Regions from separate parts of the Homo sapiens genome. Here all the other regions are linked to region 1. The links are contacts of gene promoters, found by promoter capture Hi-C in blood cells and fetal thymus (Javierre and others, 2016). All regions are on one chromosome and are shown on one strand. Each heading gives the region's core, a stretch centred on a gene start or on the middle of the fragment in contact. The rest is flanking DNA. Distances are from core to core; before and after follow the strand shown.

What was found. The method cuts DNA at HindIII sites, captures the fragments that hold promoters and counts their contacts. A CHiCAGO score of 5 or more calls a contact.
Region 2: a fragment that was not itself captured here is called in contact with the fragment with the promoter of PDE7B-AS1 in region 1 in 1 of 17 cell types (total CD4 T cells); the score reaches 5.8 in total CD4 T cells.
Region 3: a contact is called between a fragment that was not itself captured here and the fragment with the promoter of PDE7B-AS1 in region 1, in 1 of 17 cell types (endothelial precursors). The highest score is 6.1, in endothelial precursors.

Annotation. Positions count from the first base shown.
Region 1 is chr6:136,071,554-136,074,090 of GRCh38, reverse strand. PDE7B-AS1 (PDE7B antisense RNA 1) reads left to right here and starts at 1,264. Exons shown (of 4, transcript NR_149042.1): 1 at 1,264-1,542. All of the region lies in intron 2 of PDE7B (phosphodiesterase 7B), which reads right to left. The HindIII fragment of the contact is 8,353 bases long and covers 1-1,523 here.
Region 2 is chr6:135,527,362-135,529,898 of GRCh38, reverse strand. The region is part of intron 2 of AHI1-DT (AHI1 divergent transcript); the gene reads right to left. Among named protein-coding and RNA genes, the nearest start is that of AHI1-DT, 31 kb to the right of the region's middle. The HindIII fragment of the contact is 3,531 bases long and covers 1-2,537 here.
Region 3 is chr6:135,544,896-135,547,432 of GRCh38, reverse strand. All of the region lies in intron 2 of AHI1-DT (AHI1 divergent transcript), which reads right to left. Among named protein-coding and RNA genes, the nearest start is that of AHI1-DT, 48 kb to the right of the region's middle. The HindIII fragment of the contact is 1,147 bases long and covers 704-1,850 here.

The DNA.
Region 1 (2,537 bases), core at 15-2,514:
CACCGTGCCCAGTTCATTTTTTTGTATTTTTAGTACAGACAGGGTTTCACCATGTTGGCCAGGCTGGCCAAATTCCTTTTTGTCATAGGAACGAGATAGGCATAAATTCTCCACGAAGGAATTATTTCTATTGGAAAGAATATGGGAACTAAATTTTTTTATTTGCTTCAGATATGGGACTTTTGGTGAAATTTCAGTTTTCTGCGCATTGTACTTTCACAACAAGTTTTTAGAAATCACGCTGAAATTCTCAACTGAGAGATACGTATCATGATCAACCTTTGCCACTTATACTCTGATACATGTGGTGGTGTATTTCCAGATTTTTACTATGTGTGGCTGTAAAAATGCTGTTATGGGCTAGAGTGTGTCCCCTGCCAAATTCGTATGTTAAAATCCTAACCCAAGCACCTCAGAATGTGACCTATATGGAGATGGGGTCTTTTAAAAGGCAGTTAAGTTAGATGAGGCCACTGGAGTAGGCCCTAATCCATTATGACTAGTGCACTTGTATGAAGAGAAAATTAGGACACAGGCCCAGAGGGAAGACCATAGAAGTGACATCTACAAGCCGAGGGGAGAGGCCTCAGAAGAAACCAACTCCACAGATGCCTTGATCCTGGACTTTCAGCCTGTAAGACTGTGAGAAAATCAGTTTCTGTTGTTTAAGCCATTGAGTTTATGGTGCTGTGTTATGACAGCCTTAGCTGATTAAGACATATGCCCGTAATTTTATGACTCAGTAAAGAAAATATTCACTTTTACTTAATTAACCCAATCATGTTCTTTACACACAAAGAAGGAGTCTTTCAGATCTGTTACCCCAGGACCTGTCACAATGCATGGCGTACGGAGGCACTCTGTGCACACGTTGAGTTTATGGACTGTCCCTGAATGTCATTCAGATGGAGGACTTTGCTTGTGGCCCTAGTTGTGTGATATGAACAGACTTCAGCATGGCCATCCCTGCCGACGCCACCATCTCAGATATTCCATCAATGCTCCTTAGCCCCGAGAGCAGGCCAAAAAGACAAAGAACATGGTCTCCAAGCGGCCCAGCCCCAAGCAACACAACTCCCTGGGGTTTCTCCAAAAAGAGAAGGGTGCGTTGAGTGGCTCTTAGCTGTTCCTACCAGGATATACAGGTGAGCCAAGAAAAACCACATGGCTAGCTTTATCAGGAGCTGCTGACAGGCCTGAAAGATCCAAAACGGACACCTGACCCATGTGACTGTTGTCAGAACACTATCCACCATGGCAACCAGGCCAGTTTCCATCGCACATGTGTCCCGCAGCTCCACCGAAAAGGATCAAGAAAGTCAGGATTCTAAATACCAACAGCATCACTCTGTCAAAACCACCCTTGCAACCTTTCTCAGAAAAGGAAATGTAATGACAAGATGAAAGTTAGCCAGAACGGCCATGTCCAGAAAAGCTCTCAGTAGTACAGCCATCTGTCCGAAATACTCTAACCTACAAGGTGGCCACGGTCTCTTCAGAGGGTCATGGAGCTCTGCAAAGCTTGTCTTAAAACTGATTAAGGTAAAATAGTTATTAGAAGACATCTTTTTCTTTCTTAAGATCAATAGAAAAATAAACAGGGCTGGGCAAGGTGGCTTACACCCAGAATCCCAGCACTTTAGTAGGCCAGGGCAGGAGGATCGCTTGAGCCCAGGAGTTCAAGAGCAGCCTGGGCAACACAGCAAGAACTCATCTCTACTTAAAAAACAAAATTAAAGTATCAGCTATGCCATGAGCTATCTAACCAGGTGCCCCTCTCCCACCATTTCCTCTCCCTGTACCCTGTTTAGGTCCTTCACAGAACTTAGGACAATTTCGATTTGTCTTTCTCTCTCCTCGCCTCCCCGCCTATTTATTTTCTGTTTTCCCCATTAAGGGCAGGAACTGTGTTTATTGTATTTGCCATTATATATTCAAGACAAATTATGATGCCTGCTACATAATAAATGCTCAATAAATATTTGTAGAATGACTGACTGAATGAAAAAAATGTTAAAGGGGACTGAGGGAAGAAGCTAAAATATATTTAGTTTTTGTGCTGTGTACCTTTTAAGGCACTGTTGTAGGGTCACCTCATTTAATTCTTAAAACATAATAGATGCTTAATAAATATTTTTAGAATGACTAACTGAAGGAAAAAAATGTTAATGGAAACCAAGGAAAAAAGCTAAAATACATTTACTTGTTACTGCACTGTGTACCTTGTTAGGCATTGTTATATGATCATGTCATTTAATCCTTAAAACATTAGAATGCTGCACTCATTTATTAATTTATTGAGTGGAATCTTGCTCAGTTGCCCAGGCTGGAGTGCAGTGGTGTGATCATAGCTCAGTGAAGCCTCGAACTTTTGGCCTCAAGCGATCCTCCCACCTTAGCCTCCCTAGTAGCTGGGACTACAGGCATGCACCACTACACTTGGCTAGAGTGATATAATTTTAACATAATTTTTCCAGTAAGAAAACTGACATCCAGAGAAGTTTATAATTTCTTGGTGTTTCTGTAATGGTGAAATG
Region 2 (2,537 bases), core at 12-2,511, 540 kb after region 1:
TATCATAGTGCTATTATTACTACATTTTTATTAAATGTGAGCACCAAACATTTATAGGTCTCTACTGTGCCCAAGGCAAGTAATGGAACATAAAGATTAAAAAAAGATGGTCTTTCCTATCAATGAAGAGTTAACAGGGAAGATGAGACATACTTGTACAAGAAAGATATAACTAAAATGATACTGAAGCAGAAGTTAAGTTAGATTACCCAGTTCAGGTCCCCGGTTCCCCACCTGGTAGCTGTTCGTCCTTAAGCATGATACTTTTCCTTGAAGCATCAGCTTCAGCAACATTTAAATAAGACTAATAATGATACATATTTCATAGGGTTCATGTGAAAATTAAATGACACTTAAAAAAAATGAAGTGCTTAGCAAAATACCAAACATATAACAAATATTCACGGAATGCCGACTGTTAGTGCTTATGGTCCAACTAAAGGATTCTTTGATTTAATTAACTGTTATGAAGGTCTCTTTATAACTTGTAAAGTTATAAAGTTATAAGTTTGTAAACTTGAAAAAATATTTTCTGGGATTACCTCTGATCATTACAACTCATTCCTATTTAACTAATTAGTTGCATTGGACAAATAGTAATGTACATCTAAACATCATGATATACGCCTCAACAAATAAGAAAATTATTATTCATAAAATAACATTACTGAATAAAAAGTGATGAATATGGGAATGAGCAGCCCTCTGAACTAACTTCTCATCAGCCTAACTATCAGGAAAGTAGGGCTTTTAATGAAAATGGAGAATTGTTAATAAAACTGAGAACTTTTACTAATCTGTGGAAATTTAACCATAAGTTTTAACCACGAGAGTTAAGCTCACTTATCTGCAGAAATATCTATCGTGTAATATTAGTTACACTTACTTGCTCCTGGCACTATTCAAAAACAAATGCTTTCCTCTACAAGGTAATTATCATTTGATCTATAAAATATGGACTTTAGCCATAAATATCTGGGTCAGAAAGTCTTCTAAAGCAAAATACTGTAGGAAATATGTTGGAATTATGTCAGAATTATCTAAAACTTGGATCATTTATTAGTTACTTGAGCAAGATTTCTTCCTGGAAAGTTATAGCCATATAGATTTTTATGTTCACAGATGTAACATTTGAAGTGTAAGATCAAAAGATTGGTATTTCTAAGTCAAACATGATCATACAGATATGTAAAATCACCAAAGAGATTTATCTGGTACATTCCACATTTCAGTCTGTTTTCTTACTAACACATATTTGAAAAATAAAACCCAAAAAGTCCTAGTTGTTCAAGCATGTGATTAAAATTCAACATTAAACACTTTCTGAAAGAAATCTGATAGTGACACTGTTGGCCTGGTAATCTTATCCTATATACACATGACATGAGAAAAATTACCCCTGTGTTTATCTTCATTATAGTGAGGACATTAGAAAATGTAAATGTATGTTGTAACTACTAAAACTCTGGAACAACACATGTAATCTGAAAAGTCAAAGCTGATTTATTCCAGGCACCATTTAACAGAAATGACACATCAAAAAGTAATACAATATTATGAGATTTTTATTGCAAATAAGGTTCAAATATATTTTCAAAGGGAAGAGTTAGAAAAGTGAACATCTTTAAATGTCTTCAAGATTAATGGTAAGACATTCTGAATTGGCCATGTTACAGAATAGTGGAGGAATTATATAACTTACTTACAGTCTGCACATACAGATGCTATGGGTTTTAGAGACAGTTTTCATGTTGGCTATTTATTTAGACAGTGTTATATTCCCACAATAATAATGTTTTATTTCATCATCCTGTTTGAACCAGGTTTAAGCATGCAGCTGCAGCATGTTGAATTTTTAAGAAGCAAAGTCAGTCCAGTTTCATGAGTTTGGGCTTTTTATTCCATATTTGAATTTATTTTTCCTGGAAAGGAAAAATAGTTATAGCAGCACCTGGTATAGTTCCATGAACATAGTGGAGGCTTAATAAATATTTATCACTGTTGAAGTTAGAAGAAACACTGATTTGCACGCTGCATGATGTTGAATTAGGACCATATTGCTGCAAAAAGCATAAACATTGGGTGCGGCATCTGAATCTTAGACAATTTTTGAAAATGACTATTTTGCAGGAGGCCTAATCTGCCACAGAAAAAAATAAAATGTTACTTATAACTATTATTGAGATGCATTAAAATCTAAAGAACTGTTTAGAAAATCAGACTCTACAGAATGCTGGAAAGTGTTACTTTTTTGTATTGCGATCTGATTGGCCTTGGCAGGAGAGCCAGAAGAGAACCCCAGCTGTAGATCTGTAGGAGAGAGAGAAGTAAGCCAAGACTGGTGGGGATAGGGGAGGTCTGAGGTATATGACTATAAGCTCCCCCAAGTCTCAGCATCTAACAGGACATACCAAACCTGAATCCAAACCAGATTAATGGTGACAGTCACCATCTCAAGCCAGGTGGGAGCATGGCACCAGGAACTGGTTATGTGGGAAATGTTATTATCCAACAGATGACAGTTTTATGTTCGGAAT
Region 3 (2,537 bases), core at 28-2,527, 530 kb after region 1:
CTGGTTATATGTTAAAGAAAATGAACTTAGTATGAAAATCGCTCTCCCTGAACTTCAAGAGCTCCATAATGAAACCCAGTGATTCACCCTTTCTCAGTGAAGAATGGACTTCATAATCAAATGAAGAAAAAGCAGTTCTTCAAAATGAACAATAGTGCATTGCAGTGAAGCAAAATCCAGCACATGAAATGCAGATAACCTGCTCTAACACTTGCATGCCATTGGCTGCTGGTGTGCAGCCAAAATTTAACTGTCACCCTTGGAAGAACTGAGGAGTGAAGTCAACTCTTGATTTTCCACACTAATGGAAACAAATGTGTCTGACCTAGAAGGTCATCAATCTCCATCCATGAACGCAAGTGGGTGAGAAATATTTTTATTTCATTCAATCTAATTTTTCTGTCAAACCCTGATGCTAGGGCAAGGGTAGGAGGTTGTGAACATTCTACTGCTCTCACAACACTGTCTGGGAATTTTGCCACTTCCCTGGGTTTCTGCCAAGAATGGGCCCTCCGCCCATTGGTCACAGGGAACGACAGAGGGAGGGATAGGAACACAGGCCCGCGGGCCAAAGCCTGTGCCCCCTCCACATGCCCGCACCACTATGGCCCCCTCAATCTTGCTGCCCTTGCCACATTCCTAAGGACCCACCCTCCACGGTGTAGCCACACTTAAGCAGAAGTGGGAGCAGCCCCAGGAAGCTTCCTTCTAGGGCTGATCCAGCAGGGAATCCAGGTGGGATTGAGGGGACGCCTCTCCTTGGCCCCACAGAACCCGAGGGAGAAGCCTCCAGGGGCTCCAAGGTCCTTGATGGAACTGGGGCTCCCTCTTTGAAACCCATCCAAACGCACTGCCACCACATCCTCCCTGTTCCCTCTTTTCCCCTTCCTTTTCTATATAAACCCCTGGGAATCTTTTCCTCTCCAGAAGGCGAAAGCAACAGTCACCCTTGATGTTTCTCTTATATAATTTGGCTCTACCCAGAGACTCTCTATTGTCCTAAAGGAGTGAGCTTTTTGCCAGGAAGTTTCCTGAATTTGGGGAGTGTGGGGGAGTTGTTTCATTTGTTTTCTGTTGTCTACCATGTCATATCCTTTCCCTGAGATACTGAGTGGAAAGCAGCTTTGCTGCTTAAACAGCAAGGAGATTAATCAGTAGGAGGGAAAAGAGATGTATGTTTCTAAAAACATCATAATCAAAATATTGTAGGTGTATGTATTATTATTTGATTATGAGTCTATATTTGATAATGACTGATGTTCAGAAAATAGACAGAATAATGAAACATTATTCATTACTAAACTTTTCTATTACTTCTACCCAAACATCTTCATGCATTTCATTTGAATTAAAAAATATGGTAGTGCTGCTATTGTGTACATAGAAATTGAGAAGTCTATAGGCAATAAATCATATATTATGTGGGTAATTCCAATAAGAGGATATAAAAATCCTGAGTACTGCATTCTCCCAGTATTTATGCCAAGGGAAGACACAGATGTGTGCTGTTAAATGAAGATCCTAAACACTAATTGCATCTCCTGTATTCCTGATCTTCTAGGATTTCTACCAGAGCAGGACAAATTTGGGTCCTAGAAGGCACTATTAAGACAGATTTCCTATCTTCTGCCAGGCAACTGCTGTTGCCACCATAAGGCAATCATCTTGGGAACTCATTAATTCTGTTCCCTGTATACCTGGAGTAGGATTTCTTCCAAATGACTTTATCAGTTAAGTTTCTTTGGCTGTAAGCAACAAAGATCTTAAAATGCTAGCTAATTTAAGATTAAAGAAAATGTATTGATTGGCACAGCTGAAAATTCTAGAGTTGGAATGGTTTCAATCAAGCTTGATTACGACCTCATCCTTAGGGGCTGCCTGATGCTTCCTGACATCCTCAGTTTCTCACCTGAGGCAGCAGAAGAGCTAGCTAGCTAGCTAGCTAGCTAGAGCTAGCTTCCCAAGTAGTTCAAAGAAAAGACCAGACGTTTAAACCTGGGTCTTGTGCTGAACCACCCACTGTGATCATAGGACTCTAACCACAGCGACAGTCTGAGGTGGAGGCTGGCAAACTTTTGCCATAGAGGACCAGATAGTAAATATTTATGGCTTTGCAGGCCACATGGTCTCTGTCACAACTACTGACCTCCACCATTGTAGAGCAAAAGCAGCCATGCATAAATGGATTAGCATGGCTAAGTTACAATAAAACTTTATGGGCACTGAAATTTAGATATTATTATTTTGATTTTTGTTGAAGCCACTTAAAAATATAAAAATCATTCTTAGTTCACAGTATTTATAAAAATAGGTGGCATTTTCTTCAGTACATATTTTACTTGAAACACACAGAGTGAGGGAGAAATGGGTCCTTCAGAACAAAGTTAGGATAGTGAGTACCGAGCAAGCAACACAATGAGTATTCACCCCAGCACCATCATGCTTCATAGTTTTAGATCATGAGGGCTCAGGAAACTCATAGAACTTGTCCTGAAGCTAGAAACCCAACAAACAGCCACTCCCAGCTCCTCAGTGCT